Linked DNA regions of Homo sapiens: regions 2 and 3 are each linked to region 1. The links are contacts of gene promoters, found by promoter capture Hi-C in blood cells and fetal thymus (Javierre and others, 2016). All regions are on one chromosome and are shown on one strand. Each heading gives the region's core, a stretch centred on a gene start or on the middle of the fragment in contact. The rest is flanking DNA. Distances are from core to core; before and after follow the strand shown.

The links. The method cuts DNA at HindIII sites, captures the fragments that hold promoters and counts their contacts. A CHiCAGO score of 5 or more calls a contact.
Region 2: a fragment that was not itself captured here is called in contact with the fragment with the promoter of ITIH1 in region 1 in 7 of 17 cell types (erythroblasts, M1 macrophages, M2 macrophages and 4 more); the score reaches 8.1 in erythroblasts.
Region 3: a fragment that was not itself captured here is called in contact with the fragment with the promoter of ITIH1 in region 1 in 1 of 17 cell types (M0 macrophages); the score reaches 5.0 in M0 macrophages.

What each region holds. Positions count from the first base shown.
Region 1 is chr3:52,775,653-52,779,519 of GRCh38, forward strand. It overlaps ITIH1 (inter-alpha-trypsin inhibitor heavy chain 1), which reads left to right and starts at 1,947. Exons shown (of 22, transcript NM_002215.4): 1 at 1,947-2,080; 2 at 2,345-2,365; 3 at 2,688-2,854; 4 at 3,290-3,394; 5 at 3,780-3,867. The coding sequence starts at 1,964. RefSeq lists enhancers at 2,580-3,779, 3,764-3,867. The HindIII fragment of the contact is 3,325 bases long and covers 1,790-3,867 here.
Region 2 is chr3:53,098,194-53,102,060 of GRCh38, forward strand. It overlaps RFT1 (RFT1 glycolipid translocator homolog), which reads right to left. Exons shown (of 13, transcript NM_052859.4): 11 at 1,188-1,293. Among named protein-coding and RNA genes, the nearest start is that of RFT1, 30 kb to the right of the region's middle. The HindIII fragment of the contact is 250 bases long and covers 1,852-2,101 here.
Region 3 is chr3:53,042,894-53,046,760 of GRCh38, forward strand. SFMBT1 (Scm like with four mbt domains 1) reads right to left here and starts at 3,180. Exons shown (of 21, transcript NM_016329.4): 1 at 2,923-3,180. RefSeq lists silencers at 2,219-2,508, 2,869-2,928, 3,029-3,348, 3,399-3,508 and an enhancer at 3,496-3,867. The HindIII fragment of the contact is 2,480 bases long and covers 545-3,024 here.

The DNA.
Region 1 (3,867 bases), core at 697-3,196:
AGCAGCCAGCACATCCCAACCCAGGTCACAGACTAGACTGGCCAGGGGCCCTGTCTGCCCAGTATGCTGTGGTTTTTGGGGAACAGGGTGGGTTTGGCAATAAAAAAATAAGAAACTGCAGGTGCAAGATGGGTCTCTGGGAACTCCTGTCTCTAGGATCTTCAAGTCTGCTTCTCTGTCATTACATGATGGCCTTGGGCTTTAGAGCCTGAGAGACCTGGTTTGAATCCCTGTTCTGTCTCTTGGTATGGGGCCAGTGTCCCAGGAACGTTGCGAGGATAAAATTAGACAATAAAGGGTTTAGAGGAATGCATGACACAAATGAGTCCTCGATTATGAAAACATGTCATTCATCTTCAGCTCCCCTTTATCTGCCAGGCCTCCCTGCCCAGGTGCAGGAACGAGGAAGCTCACTTCTGTTCTTTCTAGAACTGGGTAAGAACCTCAGAGAGGTGAAGCAACTGGCCTAAAGCGCAGATCTCCCATCATGCCTCACCCCGACCGTCCAGACTGTCTCTGACAGAGCTAATACCAGGTTAGCACTGTGAGAATCACCAGCATGGCTGGATGTCACACACTTTCTAAGCCACCGTGTCTGCCTCCCTGGCCAAAGCATGACTGAAAAGTGTGTTGATGCTGAAAGAATTTTGAAACAGTCTGGGCAACAAAGTGAGACCCTGTTTCCCTCCCTTTCTTTTCTTTTTTCTTTTCTTTTCTTTTCTTTTTTCTTTTCTGTTCTTTCTTTCTCTGTCTCTCTTTCTTTTCTTTTCTTTCTTTCTTTTTGGAGACAGTCTCGCTCCGTCACCCAGGCTGGAGTGCAGTGGCACAATCTTGCCTCTCTGCAACCACCACTTTCCAGGCTCAAGCTATTCTCCTGCCTCAGCCTCCTGAGTAGCTGGAACCACAGACGCATGCCACCATACCTGGCTAATTTTTGTATTTTTGGTAGAGATGGGGTTTCACCATGTTGCCCAGGCTGGGCTGGAACTTCTGGCCTCAAGTGATCTGCCTCCCTCAGCCTCCCAAAGTGCTGAGATTACAGGCATGAGCCACCTCGCCCGACTGAAACCCTGTTTCAACAAAAAATAAAAATAATCAGCTGGGTGTGGTGCCACATTCCTGTGGTTCCAGGTACTCAGAAGGCTGAGGTGGGAAGATCAGTTGAGTCTGGGAGGTCGAGGCTGCAGTGAGCCAAGATCGCACCACTGTATTCCACCTGTGCGATAGAGGGAGACCCTGTCTTAAAAAAAAAAAAAAAAAAGAAATTTGAAAGTAAAGCCTGGCCGGGCCCAGTGGCTCACTCCTGTAATCCCAGCACTTTGGGAGGCTGAGGCGGGCAGATCACCTGAGGTCAGGAGTTCGAGACCAGCGTGGCCAATGTGGTGAAGCCGTCTTTACTAAAAATACAAAAATTAGCTGGGCATGGTGGTGTGCACCTGTAATCCCAGCTACTCGGGAGGCTGAGGCAGGAGAATCACTTGAACCCAGGAGGTGGAGGTTGCACTGAGCCAAGATCCTGCCACTGCACTCTAGCACTCAAGACCAAAACTCCATCTCAAAAAAAAAAAAGTAAAGCCTAATGAAGTTTAGAAATCCATTTTTAACTGTTGCTTCTTGCCACATGTCACCGTGTCACTGGTGCTGCCTTGTGCCAGCCCGAGGATGAGATGAGCCATCCGGGGATCCTCACAGTTCACATAGGCTAAGCGCAGTTCTACACAGAGGGACATGGTCTGGAGCCCCATCAGTAGTTTAACCACCCAGAGCTGGGAACCCCCCTGAGGCAAAAAGCTTCCACTGCCAAATTTTGATTCCTCTAAATGTGTTAGGTTGATGCAAAAGTCATTGCGGTTTTTGTCATTAATATTTGCCTGCACCTTGTCTAATGTTTAATCCATGTTTATCCAGCACTGTATTGATTACTGGTCTGACTGAGGTGACAGGGCAGCAGGAGCCTTAGAGCATGGACGGTGCCATGGGGCCTCGGGGGCTGCTGTTGTGCATGTACCTGGTATCTCTCCTCATCCTGCAGGCCATGCCTGCCCTGGGCTCGGCTACAGGCAGGTCCAAGAGCAGCGAGGTATATGGCTAAGCCCACAGGGCAGAAATAGGCAGCTGAACCTGGATGAGGCCCCGGGCGGGACACAAGACCCCCATTCAAGGGGCCAGGGTCACCCCCACCACCTCCACCACTTCTGAGTGGAGAGGTGACCTCCCAGCACCACCAAGGAGGTGAAGCTAAGGGGCAGAGGACACAGGCTGTGTTCCACTCCCATCCCTGAACTGGCAGGCCGGTGGTCCCCTGAGTTTTCCTCTCACACTTGACCCTGATTTTGTTTTGCAGAAGCGACAGGCTGTGGACACCGTGAGTAAGAGTCCTGGCAAAGGGGTCTGTGACAGAGCCCTTTTTACAGGCTTGCTTTCCCCAACCTGTCAGGGGTGGACCCCTCTATCAGGGCCATAGGCATGGGGTACTCTCCAGGGTCCTAGAAATGGGGACTTGTTCCCATCTCACCTCATATCCCACAGCACGGTCTCAGCCAGAGAGCAGGGGTCTTCCTGCGGTCTGTTCTTCCTGCATCTGGGCACCATGCACTGGGGCTAAGTGCCAAGTCCCCGTACCACAGGAAGTCCCTCGCTGACAGAGGCCCTGTCTCAGGCCACAGCTCCTTCATGTCTCACTTTAGGCTGTCGATGGCGTGTTCATCCGGAGTTTGAAAGTCAACTGCAAAGTCACCTCTCGCTTCGCCCACTATGTTGTCACCAGCCAAGTGGTCAACACTGCCAATGAAGCCAGGGAAGTGGCCTTCGACCTGGAAATCCCCAAGACAGCATTCATCAGTGACTTTGCCGTGTGCGTGCCTGCCCAACTCCCATGCCTTCTCCCAGGGGTGCCGCTTACTAGTCCCAGCTTAAGAACAAGGATCGGAGTGGCCAGATAACGCAGAGCATCTCCTCATTCTAGAAGGGCCACAGACCAGCCCTGGCTTTGAGGGGAGGAAGAAGCCCTTTAGGTCTGTGCTTGGCTCCCATCTTGGAGGCAAACTGGGACCCATCACAGCATGTTTCAGGCTAGAACCCAAGGAGCCAAGGCCAGAGTCTGAGGCTTCTTGCTGGCCTCTGACCTGGGCTGCTCACCTCATTGCCCATGGACCCCTGAGTTCCACCATGGGCAGTGGAAGGCTCGTCAGGAGACGTCCTTATCCAAGGGCTCACATGGACAGGCCCTCTCAGGACCTGTGTGGTCAGGAGGCTCATCTTTCCTGAGGGTGTCCTTCCCTCCCTGCAGTACAGCAGATGGAAACGCATTTATCGGAGACATAAAGGACAAGGTGACTGCATGGAAGCAGTACCGGAAAGCAGCTATCTCAGGAGAGAATGCCGGCCTTGTCAGGTGAGTTCTGGGCCTGCTGGTCTCATCTCTAGGGCTGCCCTCCCCAGCCAGGACAGGTCTGATGGCTGCAAGGTGGCTTTAGTGGAGAACAGCCCAGGATGATGGAAGGGTAAGCAAACTGCCCAAACCCAGATGCCAGCACGGTGCACTGAACAGGCTGCCGTGCAGTTGCCCTTTTCCCAGATATGCCACTGGGAGAAGTGGGCCCCCGCCATCTTGGGCCCTGACCCTGACCAGCCAGCTAACACATTTGTGAGGTCCAGGGAAACCTGGGAGCAACACTCATCTAAGAGAAATAAATTCTGTGGGCCACATGTTAGGTGACAAGGACCCAAATGTCATTTACCCTCTGTCTGTCTGCTGTTGCCTCTGGTGGCACATCCAGGGCCTCGGGGAGAACTATGGAGCAATTCACCATCCACCTCACCGTCAATCCCCAGAGCAAGGTCACGTTTCAGCTGACTTATGAGGAA
Region 2 (3,867 bases), core at 727-3,226, 320 kb after region 1:
AATTGCCTAGAGCTGTGTAATAAACAGATTCCCTGGCTCAAGCCTTCTAAGATTCTAATTCAGCTTGGCTAGGAGTGGACCAGAAATTCCTAGATGAATCTCATCAGTCTGGACTGAGACCTGCTGGTCTGGACTCTAGTTCTCAGTCACTGTGTAGCAAACAAAGTCCCCAATCTTTTACATGAGCCAGCGCAGGAAAGGACACACACAGAGGAGGGGGAAGGGTCCCCATTTGAGACACTCCCTCCCCATCCCACCCCATGGCCAGGCTTCTGAGGGCCCTCACCAGCAATCAAGGTTACAGAGGCAGCATGAAAACCCCCATGAGGCTGGGCACGGTGGCTCATGCCTGTAATCCCGGCACTTTGGGAGGCCAAGGCGGGAGAATCACAAGGTCAGGAGATCGAGACCAACCTGGCTGACACGGTGAAACCCCATCTCTACTAAAAATACAAAAAATTAGCCAGGCATGGTGGCACGCGCCTGTAGTCCCAGCTACCTGGGAGGCTGAGGCAGGAGAATGGCGTGAACCTGGGAGGCAGAGCTTGCAGTGAGCAGAGACTGCGCCACTGCACTCAAGCCTGGGCGACAGAGCGAGACTCCATCTCAAAAAAAAAAAAAAAAAAAAAAAAAGAACCACTGGTAGGGGATTCCAGGACAGGAATCCTGATCTGGAGTCAAGAGTTGAGAAAAAATTATGGCAAGATGAGATGTATGTGTGCACTTGGGCTTTTCTCAGGAGAAGTGTCACAGAATCCCTGAGATTCTCAAAGACCCACCAATCAGGTTCTCAGGGGTAGGAATGTGCATCTTGAAGAAGCTCCTCAGTAACTTACTGGAGGACCACTCTTCTGGGGTGAGCAAGGAGGTGGAGGAATGGAAATCTAGCTTGTCTGGTGCCTGACTCTGCAAACCTGGACTAATGTAACCTTTCAGAGCCGATGTTTCTTCCTCCACAAAGGGGAGGCAAAGAGTAGTTGCTGCCTCCCAGCCCTACAGTGGGGAGCACTTGCTGAACCATGCTGGTGCCACAGAGATCCCAGGGGAGCACCACACTGGTGGACTAAGTGTTGCCTCTAAAACAGCCATCTGTAAATGCATGTTCAGAACGAAAAGCAAAAAGCTTGACAAGTTATTTCATTTTGGCTGAAGGCCATGATTAAAGGTGTACCTGCTAGGTTACCCACCTGTCGACCTCCTCTTTGCTCATGGCAGCAAATGTGAAACACTCTGTCACTCCATTGATGGCAAGCAGGAGAACATAGAGACAGTAGGAACGCAGCAAAACAGGACCTACAAGGAAACAACTCACTGAGACTCCAGAGCCCAATCAGAAGGCCCACATGTACCCTCAGTGCTGCTGAGTACCCAGAGAACCAGAACCAGACTATGAGGTCTGCTGGTATCAGCAATGGGCAGACTGCATGCTAGAGCCCAGGGTCTTAATAATCTAGAAGGATTCCCAACATTCTATGGCATTGACTAAATAATCAGCAAAAAACAAAATGACAGGCTGGGCACGGTGGCTCACACCTGTAATCCTAGCACTTTGGGAGGCCCAAGGCCAGCAGACTGCTAGAGCCCAGAGGTTAGAGACCAGCCTGGGCAACATGATGAAACCCCGTGTCTACCAAAAATACAAAAGTTAGCTGTGTGTGGTGGGCATGCCTGTAGTCCCAGCTACTCGGGAGGTTGAGGTGGGAGGATCACCTGAGTCTGGGGAGGTCAGAGCTGCAGTGAGCCATGATAGTGCCACTGCACTCCAGCCTGGGTGACAGAACAAGACCTTATCACACACACAAAAAAGAACAATTATGAATAAATGTACAGATCTCTTGCTGGACAACTAAAAGCTTATCTGGCTAGCAAGCAAGTCTGTTCCCTTTTTTCATCAGCATGAATAGGCCTGCTGGTTTGGACTCAAAGTCAGTAGTGACCCTGCATGTTAAGGGAATCTCAGTTGAGCAGGTCCTGAAGAAAAGACCTTTAACAAAAGCCAGGGGCCCAGGACCAGCAGAAAATTACACAAATCCAAAGTGAGAACCAGTGCCCATAATAGTATTTTCTTCTAAAACAAAGTAATGCAGTTCTATAGCTAACAAGCTTCGGAAAAATCTTCTAAGCAGAGAACAGGAGGCTTACAAATGGGATTGATTCCCCCCTTTTAAGAGGGCCATAATCAAGCACCTAATAAAATAAACAAACACCTAACCTACGACCCAGCAATTGCACCCCTAGGTATATATCCAACAGAAATGAACACACATGTTCACAAAAACACTTACACAAAAGCATCTGTAGCAGTTTGATTCATAATAGCCAAAACTGACCATCAACAGAAGAAAGAATAAACAAAACGTGGGCCATCCACACAAAGGAATACTTAGCAAGAAAAGATAATAAAAATCACTGATCCATGCGAAACCATGGAAGAATCTCAAAAACTTTATATTGAAGGAAATATGCCAAATGCAAGAGCGCACATGCTGCATTTCATTGATATAAAATTACTTTTAAAAGAAATACTGATCCATGGTGATAGAAATCAGATTTCTTCTGATTTCTCTTTGTCTCTGAGGTGGAGTGGGGTAGTTGACTAGAAAGGGTCCCAAAAGAACTTTCTGGGGAAATGGAGATATTCTATGTCTGAATCTGTTTGGTAGTTACATGGGATTTTTTGTACATATTTGTCAAAACTTACCAAACTGTACTCTTAAGAGAACAGCATTTTACTTTATGTAAATTATACCTCAACAAAGGGAGAAAAAAAACTCCCAAAAAAAACACATAACCACTGAAAGAAAAGGAGGGGGACTGAAGTTCCGGAGTCTCAGAATCTGGAACTCATTCAGGGTTTATGAAAGCTGTTTAATACAAAAGATCTCCATGCTGTGGGACCCCTAAACAGTTTTATGGCAGTCACAAAATTATAAAAGGAATACTAACAGGGCAGCCCCGACGCTCAACAAAAAACCGTTTTCCACGGCCCTGTCTCAGATTCCATGTTTATCACCTCACATTGCATTTTGCTTGTCAAGCCGCTGCAGGAAGTAGCCTGGCCCCCACCCCAGCTGACGGTGACTCCAGGAAGGGAGGCGGGGACCAGGCTCTGCACCCGGGAGGCTCAAGGCTATGCTCAAGTGTGCCTCCTGCTTCTCCCCAACCTCCTCTCCCTGGCAGAAGCAGAGAAGAGTGGGGGGCCTCCTTACGTGGTAACTGAACGCTAATGGCACAGGAGGGCCCATCAGTAGGTGAACAGTGGGCTGTCGTGAGGCATGGAGAACACAAACTCTGGCACCAATCAGTGACTCACGTAAAGGGTTTTGTGTCCATTTGGGGAATTCAAGAATGGAACCAACCTTCGATTGTAGACTGAATTGAGGGGTGTTTTAAGTTGAACTGTCCCCCCAAAATAGATATGTTAATGTCCTGACCAGTGGTACCTGAGAATCTGTCCTTATTTGGAAACAGGGTGTTCATGAAGAAAACTGAGTTAAAATGAGGTCATTAGGGCAGGCCCTGATCCTATATGACAGGTGTCCTTATAAAAAGGGGAAACTTGGTCAGGTGCAGTGGCTCATGCTTGTAATCTCAGCACTTTGGGAGGCTGAAGGGGGGCAGATCATCTGAGGTCAGGAGTTTGAGACCAGCCTGGCCAACATGGCGAAACCCCGTCTCTACTAAATATACAAAAACTTAGTCGGGTGTGGTAGGGTGTGCCTGTAATCTCAGCTACTCGGGAGGCTGAGGCGGGAGTCTCTTGAACCCGGGAGGTGGAGGCTGCAGTGAGCCGAGATCACACCACTGTACTCCAGCCTGGGTGATAGAGTGAGACTTCATCTCACTAAAAAAAAAAAAAAGTGGGGG
Region 3 (3,867 bases), core at 535-3,034, 270 kb after region 1:
GTGGAGTGACCAAATCCAGCTTAGTTGCTGGTCAGTCAGTTGGCTGGCTAGCTTAACACGGGAAAGACAGAATTATTCAGCGAAATCATTTCACAAAAGAAAACCTTTTAACTTTGTGGACTATTCCCCATGGATCCCTACACCACAGGCCTTAGAACATTCCCAACTTTTATCACACAGATATCTTTGCAGTAAAAAACACAAGCCTTTGTTAGGAACTAACAAAATAAGAATTCACTTACAACATCTAACCCATCTCCTTTACAGTAGGAACAAGAAAAGGCACAAGACGACATTGGTGAAGGAAATGCAAATTGTTGCAGCATTTGCTTCAGTGGAGAATATTTAAAAGTCCACCTTCCTAGAAAGAGGGTTAATAAAAAAAAAAAGGTATCTTAGTCATGCTGATTTTTTTAATCACACCTGACATAATTTTTAGTTAACCTTTTGTTTTTGCTTTCATTGTTGCACTTTAAATGATTTGATAAACCAGCTGACTATCCTGTATATATAAGTCAACTGCTGTCATTGAAAAGGTTGTTAAAGCTTTACGCACACATTCTTAATTCACTTAACTTTAAGAAACCAATTTTCATTCAATTTTCTCAGCAAATTCTAGGCATTAAGAAACTGATTCATCTACTGACACCTTAAACTCTAACTTGTTAGGAAAATTCATGATTCATTCTTCAAATCTGTTGTCTACAAATATATAGTACCTATATTCTAAAAATGGGAAGTCATAGATTAATACCATTGTCTGTGAACATAAGGACTCCCAAGAACTACCAATCGTAACCTGCAAAGTATTGCCCCCACTGAAAAGTGACCTTCTAAGAAGTTCCTCAGGACAGAATTTTAAGTTATTCTGGATTACAAAAACCCTAAGAATCATTATAAAAGCAAAGGGTCATGGCCAACACGGCCATAACTCCAAGTTTACATACAAGCTATCCTCAGTTTGTTAGTATTGCCCCTTTAACCCTCAAAAGGGTCCTGTTTTGAGGCAAAACTCATCTGTGGTGACAGAAGTCAGAATTGTGGTTGCCTTGGGGAGGGGGAATGTGTTTACTGAATGGAAAGGATACAAGGCCTGAAAATGTTCCATATCTTGATCTGAGTGTGGTTATCAGGGCATATACATATATAAAAAGTCATTGAATTGTACCCTTAAGATCTTTCGGTAGGTTATACATACCTCCATAAAAATACATTGTTAAAAATCTATTCAAATAATCATATAAAACCATTCTGGATCTAGCTACCAAGATGTTTTTTCCAAATGAATTTTAATAAAGACACACATTGCGAGCACTTTTATGTAGTACCTCTCAAAATATACACTGTGATTTCTAAGAATCTTTCAGTTAAGAAAGCCACCGAATTTTCGAACTGAAAGCACCCCCAAACATCATCTGTTTATCTTAATGTTGCAAATAAGGAAAATCAAAGCTACAATGGGTAAGAAATGTGCCCAAGATAAGGCAGTTAGTCAATGACAACGGTAATAACAGAACTGTTTCCTGATCTCTGGCCGTTTCTACCAGGCCGTAACTTTTCTGACATCGCAAACAAATCTTAACTCCGAATCTACCTACGGCCTAATTCAACAAATGCCTCAAAACGCTAGTCAACAGGCCTCAAAGTGTACACATGAAGACACATCTTCCTTCATCCTCTCGCCAGTTGACAAATTAATGATTACACGTTCAGGCATTTTACCCAGATGCAATAAAATTAAGAATGACATCTTAGAAAATGTGGTTCAAGAGAAGACATACGCAGGGATTGACAAAATCCATCTTACTTCCTTTCGAATCTCTTTGATGGTTACTTGGTTCTCAAACACAGATCACTGCTAACAGGACTCAAAAACACCACTTGGGACCATCAACCAGTGCTGCTTCGGGCGACCCGCTGGGAACACCCCCACCTGACCCAAGCGTCCACCACTCCTTGAGCACAAGCTCTGGGGGTGACCTGTGCCTGCCGGCTTAGTTTTAGACCCTACGGGAACAGCTGACATCTTGTGAAAAACTTAGCATAACGTACATCCTTTCCGCGGGAATTTATTTCTGTTCGCACAAGGCGTTTCTGCTCCGCACAGAGCAGGCCTTGCTTCCCAGGACGCCGCTCGCCCCTCCACAGCCTCCTTTTCAGCGTCCAAAATCGGACTTTAGGAACAGAAATCGAAACGGTCGCGGACCTCCCGAGCGGCAGGTCGGGGCGCTGCCGGGTCGGCGCGGGGTCCAGCGGCGGTGCCCGGCGGGCCGCGGCGCGGGAGAGGCCCGCTCACTTCACAACGGCGGCCCGGAGCCACCGGTTGCGGCGGCCACTAGACGCTCCGCCACCGCGCAGCGACCGCCCGGGCCCTCCGAAGTTCCGACCGGCCGCGCGCCCGGCCCCAGCTGCGGGTTCGCGCCCCGCCCGGAGCGAGCCCGGGGGGCGGGTCCGCGGGGGCTCGGCGGGCGGAGCGCGGGGCGCGCGCGGGGAGGGGCGCGCGGCGGGCCCGGCGCGCCGGGGAACTTGGGCGCCCGCCACTGCCGCCGCCCGGCCACTTTCCTTTCACGCCTCCCGCGGGCTGACGCGCGCCGCGCTGCCTGCCAGGGGCTGACGGCCGCCGCCGCTCTCCGCCGCGGCGAGGCGCCCAGGCGCGCCCCTGCAGCCGGCCGGCCGGCGCGCGGGACCGCGGGGCCGCGCGCGGGCGCCGCGCTCCCCCCGCCCCGCCCCCGCCCCCAACGTGCCGCCGCCGCCGCCCGTTGGCGCCTCAGCCCGCGCGCCCGCCGGCGCCCGGCGGTTTCCCGTTGGCAAAGTTGCGCGGCCGCTTCGAAGGGGACGCCGTACGGTCCCCCGCCCCGGCGCCGCCGCCGCCCCTCCAGGCCGCCGCGCGGGAAGGCCCAGCCGGTGGCCCCGCTTTTTTACCTGCCCGGAGTTTTCGCGCGCGCGCTCGCTCGATCGCTCGCTTTTCCCCCTCTCGCGCTCGTTTTCTTTCTTTCTTTCCGTCTTTTCGCTCCCCCGCGCGGAAGCTTTTTCCTCCCGTGCTGCCCGCGCTCGCCCGCTCGCGCCCTCCTTCCTGCTGGGTTCGGCGGAGCGGGGCGGCCGGCAGCTCTCCCCGCCCCCCTCCACCCGCGCTCCGGCGGAGGCGGCGGCGGCGCTCCGCGCTCCGACTCATTCCAATATGGCACGGACGCAGGGCGCATGCGCCCGCGCCCCCCCACCCCCAGCTCCGCGGTCCTCCAGGCAGCCTGCGCCCCTCGCGCCGCGCCCGTGGAGCTCCCGGGCCCGGCTGCCCCGCTCCCGCCCCAGCGCCATCCCTCCTGGCTGGGGCCGCGCGGGAGGCAAGGACTCCGCGGGCTGGTGTGCCGGGGGTCCGGCGCCGCGGGCCACCCACGCCCCCAGCCAGCAACTCGGCGCGGACGGCCCCGAGGCCGTGGCGCAGGACACGCGGCGGCGCCTCGGGCCCCCGACGGCGCTGTGGCCCCGAGCGGAACGGCCCGGAAGAGGAGACGCGTCCCCGGGAACCCAGTGCCCGCCCTGGCCCAGCCCCGATCCAGCCTGCGCCTCACCTCGGGTTGTAGACAGAGCGGCGGGGATCCCAGAGGGGTTCGCGGGTCGGACCTGGAGTACCGGCCCGGCGAAGCGCGCCGCTGTCGCCCGCACGTGACTGGCTCGGACAAGATGGCATGAGCGGAGAAGCGGCCGGATCCCAGATGCGCGCGTGCCGCCGCCGCGGGCACTGCGCCCGTTTGCCTGCCCCTCGTCGGGGATCGGGCGCTCCCTCTGAGACCTGAAAGGGCACCCAAGTGCCCCCTGTCTGCGAAGTCCGGCGCGGGCCCTTCGGCGCCCCCGATGTCTCTAGGCTTCCGC